Regions from separate parts of the Homo sapiens genome. Here region 1 is linked to region 2. Evidence: promoter capture Hi-C in 16 types of primary human blood cells and fetal thymus (Javierre and others, 2016). All regions are on one chromosome and are shown on one strand. Each heading gives the region's core, a stretch centred on a gene start or on the middle of the fragment in contact. The rest is flanking DNA. Distances are from core to core; before and after follow the strand shown.

Region 1 (4,045 bases), core at 1,129-3,628, 1.1 Mb after region 2:
TGAAACCCCGCCTCTACTAAAAATACAAAAACTAGCCAGGCATGGTAGCAGGTCCTGTAGTCCCAGCTACTGAGAAGGCTGAGGCAGGAGAATTGCTTGAACCTGGAAGGAGGAGGTTGCAGTGAGCTGAGATCGCGCCACTGCACTCCAGCCTGGGTGACAGAGAAAGACTCTGTCTCAAAAAAAAAAAAAAACAACAACAACAAAACACACACACACATACACAGAGACTTCTATGTGTACAAGTAAATCAAATAATTAATCTGATAGAAAAATATAAATTACTAACTTTGCCTTAGGAAACATTTAATCAATACCAACAAAAGAAAATGAAAGGCAGTCAAAGCTTTCCCACTGAAATAAGGCGTCATGATGAGATGAGCTTTCTTGATGCTGGGCATTCTTGTAATTGGTCATGTTCTTTGCTTATGGGCTGTTATAATAGATACTGATTCCTATTTGGGACCTAAGTGTCAGCCAGGATAACTCTCATACCCACGTATGGTCTCCATCTTTCATACTTGTCACTTTGCAGAGTTAGAAAAAGGTTGTAGCCCTAGACACTTGTCAAAACTCTCATGGAAAAAAAATAACCAATACTGCCTTACTGGCAAGCTTTGTTTATGATATTTGTATTATTCTAATGAAGCCATTAGCAAGTGTGGCCTACTGTAGTCATGTGAGATTGTTCAGTTGAGCCTACAACTACTGGATGTTATACACAGGGAGAGATTCCTTTTATTTGCACTTATCAAAATGTTACTGGTTTCATCTAATAGCAGCGGGTGGTCAGGCTAGGTGTGGAGTAGCCTGTGTAGCACCTGCAACTAGTTACATAGTTTAAAGATACACCTAACACCTGAGAACCATTAGGATGGTGCCATGGATATTCCTGTCCTGGTCATAATGAGCCCATGGTTTTGTGATTCTAAGAGAAGAGAGAATTTTGAATAAGATGTTCAATGTCATTCTTCTAGGAAGAATTAGCAAAAAATGTAAAACGTGCTATAATAGAGAGTTGAGCAAAAGTTTCCTTGAGACCTGGGAAAAAAGTTTCAAAGAGCTTTCATGGATAAAAATTATATTTAATCTAGCTCTTAAGACAGGTATTTCGTCTTTGAGAAATGTCTACTCCGATCTCTTGCCCATTTTTATTCAGATTTTTTTGCTATTGAGTTTTTTGAGTTTCTTACATATTCTGGTTATTGAGTTCCTTATAGATTATTGTGAGTTGAATAGTTTGCAAATATTTTCTCCCATTCTATAGGTTGTCTCTTTGCCAACAGGCATATACAAAATATGCTCAACATATATAATCATCAGAGAAATGCAAATTAAAACCACAATGAGATATCATTTCACTCCAGTTAAAAATGGTTTTTATGAAATAGAGAAAATAATAAATGCTAGCAAAGATGTAGATAAAGTAAAGCTCGTACACTGTTGGTAGGAATGTAAATTGGTATAGCCATTATGAAAAATAGTATGAAGAATCCTCAAAAAACTAACAGTAGAACTACCACATGATCCAGCAATTCCACTGCTGTGTATATAGCTCCAAAAGAAAGAAATTCAGTATATTAAGAGATATCTGCACTCCCATGTTTATTGCAGCACTACTCACAATAGCCAAGATATGAAATAAATATAAATGTCCATCAACCAATGAATGGATAAGAAAAAGTAGAACATATATACAATGAAATATTATTCAGCCATAAAGTAGAAAGATATCCTTTGTAATTACATGGTTGGAACTGGAGGACATTATGTCAAGTGAAATAAGCCAGCCACAGCAAGACAAATACACATGTTCTCGTTCATAGGTGGGAGCTTAAAAAATTATCTTATGAAGGTGGAAAGTAGAATGATGATTACCAGAGGCTGGTATGGGTAGTGGGAATGGGGGGAAAAAGGGGTTGGTAAATGGGTACAAAAATTCAGTTAGATTGTAAGAATAAGATCTAGTGTTTGGTAGCACAGTAGAGTGACTATAGTTAACAATAAATTATTGTATATTTCCAAATAACTAGAGTGGGTTTGGAATGTTCCCAACACAAAAACATGATAAATGTTTTAGGTGATGGGTGTCCAGATACCCTAATTTGAGCATAATACATTGTACACTTCTATCAAAATATTTCACATACCCCTTAAATACATACAACTATTATGTACTCATAAAAATTAAAACAATTTAAATTTTTTTAAAAGATAGATAGGCAGCATATTACCAGTTTGAAAAAAGAAAGTTGAGGGAAGCATCCTAGGTAGACAGAGAAAATGATCTCAATGCAGTTTTTAAAACATGATGCCATTCTACCTATCTAGTACGTTCTACTTTCTGCCCATGTATCAGTTCTAAGTTTTGAGAAGTTTGTTTTGGCTATTATGTGGATATATATAGAATTAAATACCTATGATTGAATTAGAAAAAGTCATTTATGGGTGCACTTCATTGTAATCTTTAAGTCTGATTAAATAGCTGCTTTAGAAAAAACGTTTCATTTCATGCTTCGCAAACTATGAATACTGAGTAAATCACATTGAAAATGATTATTGTAATGTGAAGAAAATGATATTACTAATTCTATCATTGGTTCTAAGTTAACACAAATAATTCTTTCTTATGAATTATATATGACATTTTCTAAAATGCAATTGTGATTCTGATGGCTGCACCTGTTTTCCTGAGTCTGAGAGCAGTGCGAGCACTGCCTAAGGAATCTGTACATCCACCAGCAAGACATACTGCATGAACTTTGAGTAAGTTCTTCTTATATTGAGGATATTTAGTAAGTGTGCATCTGCCTGACAAGCAACAACTTAGAGAGATGACAATTTAAATCTTTAAGATTAGATGGTCATTTTCTAAAGTAAGCACCTGATACCCTGAAAAATAATGCACTTCAGAATTGCCCTTCTCATCTGAACTGGTGGGTTCAGACAGTTATATACATTAACATTAGTTCCAAATTACCAGGACCAGCCACAAAATTTGCAGGGCCCAAAGAAAAATAAAATTCAGGGCTCTGTTTGTTTGAAAAAGCAGGATAAAAGCTCTTTCTTTCTCATCCAGTCTCTCTAGATGTACCACTTAATGCCTGTTCCACTGGACACAGGGATGCTTACAGAGTGAACACAGACCTTCACAATCCCTGGAGCCCTACCTTGTAACTTATGACTGCAGTGCTTTGGTCCCCACTGAGATAGAGGGAAGCAGCATATGGGAGGGAAAATAGGTAGCCAGGAACTTATCCAGGGAAATGTGGAACCAACCCCGAGGGGAAGCGCTGAGATCCTAGTCACGTGTCACTGTCCCATCAGGCTTCACTTTTAAAACACAATTTGAAAGATAAAACAATTAAAATCATCAAGATGGTGACTGTAGACCTTAATAAAACCCCAAGTGCCATGGGGTGCAGTTATGAGGGTGGGCTGCATGTATGGAGGGATTGTGGTTTTGGAGGGGGGTACTTCTGAACACTGAGCACAGGGGCCTGTGCAAATGCACTGGTCAACTGGTCACACACTTAATGAAGCTAATCCTGCAAGTCTGTTGCAAATTGATGGTTTAATCTGTCCCACTCCAAACTTTTACATTAAAGTCCAAAATAACACCAACCACACACTCAGTTTAGATTGGTATTATGGTTTATTGTGGGTGTTTTTTCATTCAAGAGTCACTACAGAAGAACAATGTGCATGAAAGAAAAGTAGTAATATGAACAATAGTAGAAAGAATGCCTTGAACTATTTATATGCAAATCACTGTTTTTATTAGTAAATTACAAATACCCACTTGTTAAAGTTTTTACAATTTTACCTAGAAAAATAGAATTTTTATCAATTCTTGCAACCTTTTCCCTTTAAAATAAGGACATAATTTGTAAGGTCTATCTACAATATTCAAATACTTGAAAAATGAATTTGGTGAAATTCCCTAAGAAAATAAGCTATAGATATTAATGAAGATATAGAAGCTCTGTTGTCCATGAAACATCAGTATTCGCACAAGAAAAAAACTGCTTTTATTACTATCTGA
Region 2 (3,568 bases), core at 945-3,444:
TTTGGCTTGAGGCCTCCCTGACAGCCTTGCAGACCTTTCCAAAGAAATATGCACAACTTCCCTTCTTCATCCCCCCGGGGGATTACATTTGCATGAAGTCTGAAGGCTCTCCCTGCTTCTCCCACTTGCTGCTTTTCCATTTTCTCTCAGAGGTCTGTTTCCCCTAATTTCTTGTACACTTAATCCCATTTTGGCATCAGTGTTTCAGAAAACCCAAACTAACAGAGATATTTAGGTTGTTTTCAGATTCTTATTCTGTATAACCAGACTAAGCCTCAGATTGCTCCATTTTGAGCACTGTTTTCTTCTGTTAAGAGCCTTTGAAGACCTTGCTTTTGTCCCCTGAATTAAGCCCAAACCCTTCTCACCTCTGTACTCTGCCGCAGCTCATCTTTCCAATCACCACTCAGTGTTCTAGTCTATTCCAATGCTGGACTCTCCCACTCCTCACTTCCATGCCTAAAGAAAACATCTACCTGACTAGATGCCTCCTCTATTCTGGATCCCTTCTTGACTTTTTAAACCCCCATGTTCTTTTCTGTCCATTTTAAAGACCACAGAAAGGTGTTTTATGCAGTGTTTTCACTCTTCTTGGCAGGTTAAAAGAGAGACTCAATGGTGAAGTATATAGAGTGTGGAATCAGGTCTGGTTTGTTATATTACCAACATTAAAACAACAAAACACTGAGATTGCATATGTTTGGAAAACACTGAGCTAAACAAAAATAATTAAAGCTTTTATATTTATTAACTGCAAAACTTCCCAGAGCCCTTAAAATGTTAATATATGCTGTGATTTTCCAAGACTAACACTGATAATTCATGTAGCTTATCCCAAATTTGACTACGAATTCTTTTAAAAAACGATCTCCAGACAGTACTGCTTCTTGGGACACACTGGGAAAAGGCAAAAGCTGTCATAGCATTTTTGCATGTATAATTTTCACAGTACTAAATATTCTTCACTTATAGTTATTTGTATATTTTTATCCATTTTCCCACTTTAGCGTTTTGCATAAGGTATTGAATATGGCAGGCACTTGTTGAATTAAAAATCACAGAATTTAAGTGTAGGTTCATATTCTGATAATACTTGGCAACTGGAGAACGTTAGTTTGCACCCTCTTTCAGTAGCTTTTTGGAGTCTTTTTCTATACCATAGTTACCTGTGCTATCTTCGAGCCTGGGAAAATAACTGCCTTGATGGTTAGTAAAAAGCCCTTGTTAAACATGGGCAAAACATTTTTTTCTACAAATCACTTTATTGGAGGAATAGTATAACAGAAGAATATAAAGATGGAGGTGATTTTAAGGGCAAGAAAGCAGGAGACAGCTGACTTTGGTCTTTGGATCCACTAGCCTGGGAGGAAGGCAGCTCGTGGCTTAGTTCTGCTTGTTTTCATTTCCAAGGGTATGTGTGTCAAAAAGGTACTCCGCCAGGCCAGCATCCGGGGCCCCCATCTTCACTAAGTTGTGCACGTGGTCACCTAGTTCTTTGATAGACTTCACCTGCTCATTCAGGTAGTAGGTTTCCAGGAAATCGCACAAATGGGGGTCACCTTTATCTGAGGCTAGAGCGTGCAATTCCAGCAACGACTGGTTCACGTTCTTTTCCAAGAGTAGAGCACACTCCATGGCATGCAGCCCGCTTTCCCAGTCGTCCTGTTCCGGCTTCTTGATGTCCTGCAGGCGGATCCGGCCTCCTCGCTGGTTCTGCAGCCTCATCAGCTTCTCCGCGTGCTCGGTCTCCTCCCGGGACTGGTGAAGGAAATACCTGGAGAAGTTGTTCAAGGCCACGTCATCCCGGGAGAAGTAATAGGCCATGGACAAGTACACGTAGGACGCATAGAGCTCGAGGTTGATCTGGCGGTTGATGGCAGCCTCGGAGTCGGGGTGGAAGTTCTGGCGCACCCGAGAGGGGCCGGCGGCGGGCCCGGTAGGGTCCCGGGAGGAGGCGGCTGCGGCCAGGGGGCGGCGGGGGGCGATCTGCCTGGGGTCCAAGGGGCGCCCCGGGGCCCAACGCAGCGGGAGCGCGAAGCAGCAGCGCACCGGGCGCAGAGACGCCAGCGAAGGGCTGATGTGCCTGGAGAGGAGCCTGAAGCAGGACAGCATAGCGCCGCCTCCTTGGAAGTGGGGAAACTGAGGCCCGGCCCTCTTGGCGTGGGGTCGGGCGCTGGAGGCGTCAGATCTGATCAGAACGTGGCCCTAGGCAACGGTGACTGCGTCACACGCCCCTTCTGTTCCAGAGGCGCGGGGTTCCACGCGGAGGGCGCTGGGGAAGCGCCGCCGGGGGCTCTGGGGACCCGCGTGGGGCGCAGTCTAGGCGGAGGCCAGCGCAGATGCCCAGTCACGATTCCGTGAGCATTCGCCCCCACCGACGACGTGAGATTTCTGCTCTTTGGCGATTGTCACTGATTTCACCTGCGTTAAAAAGGCTGTCAGGAGAGTAGGCCCTGGGACTTCCCAAAGAAGGGACCAAGCTGTACTCCCCCTTCTTCTCTGACCTTTTCATAAGGACCAAGAGTTGGACTGGCAACACAGTGAAAAGGGTGAACCAAAAGTCACCAATTTACCTGTGAGAATAAAGGTCCACATCCAAAGCAAGTGTACATAAATTAACTGGTTATTTAACATGTAAGTGTGGAAACAATTGCCAGCATAGTGGGAAAATTTTTAAGACTCTGTTTCTTTTAAAATACATGCATAGTTTATTTTTAAACATAAAATGTATCTTCATTGTAAAGAAATGAGATACTGTAGGCCGGGTGCCGTGGCTCACGCCTTTGGGAGGCCGAGGCGGGCGGATCACAAGGTTAGGAGATCGAGACTATCCTGGCTAACACGGTGAAACCCCGTCTCTACTAAAAACACAAAAAATTAGCCGGGCGTGGTGGCAGGCTGCTGTAGTCCCAGCTACTTGGAAGGCTGAGGCAGGAGAATGGCGTGAACCCGGGGGGCGGAGCTTGCAGTGAGCCGAGATCGAGCCACTGCACTCCAGCCTGGGCGACAGAGCAAGACTCCGTCTCAAAAAAAAAAAAAAAAAGAAAAAAGAAAGAAAGAATGAGAAATGAGATACCGTAGAAACCCTAGGAGGAATAAAATGCCTCTGAACTCAAAATATGTTACTTTCCCATCTTTTCTTAGTGCAGAGATTATATCCTCTTAAAATAGCTCTTTAAAAATTAAACTTTAAATAGCATTTAGTGTTAAAATAGTATTTATGTAATTGTTGCAGGGTACTGAAGAAAAAAGGGTAAGCACGCAGAAGAAAGTTCAAAACAACCCTAATTCGTCTTCTGCCGAGATTACTATTGTTAAAATGTTGATGGTAATGCTCAGAGGTTTAAAAAAATGAAAAACGTGTATTACAGACCCACAAAAGCGAATACAGACATATAAAACAGCTTTATATAGAGATATATAATTGACATACAATAAACTGCAGTTGCGGATAGTTCATGTGAATAGAGTCAACAGTATGTGCTCCTTTTTACTTGCTTTCTTTTAGTCAGTGTAATTATTTTAGGTTCCATCCACACTGTATCTTGTTTCAGTAGTTCCTTTTATT

The links. The method cuts DNA at HindIII sites, captures the fragments that hold promoters and counts their contacts. A CHiCAGO score of 5 or more calls a contact.
Region 1: a fragment that was not itself captured here is called in contact with the fragment with the promoter of FTMT in region 2 in 1 of 17 cell types (erythroblasts); the score reaches 6.3 in erythroblasts.

Annotation. Positions count from the first base shown.
Region 1 is chr5:120,781,725-120,785,769 of GRCh38, reverse strand. It overlaps a transcript of PRR16 not described here. Among named protein-coding and RNA genes, the nearest start is that of PRR16, 320 kb to the right of the region's middle. The HindIII fragment of the contact is 3,521 bases long and covers 618-4,045 here.
Region 2 is chr5:121,850,508-121,854,075 of GRCh38, reverse strand. It overlaps FTMT (ferritin mitochondrial), which reads right to left and starts at 2,194. Exons shown (of 1, transcript NM_177478.2): 1 at 1,243-2,194. The coding sequence starts at 2,112. The coding sequence ends at 1,384. All of the region lies in intron 3 of LOC105379149 (a long non-coding RNA gene), which reads right to left. The HindIII fragment of the contact is 4,461 bases long and covers 738-3,568 here.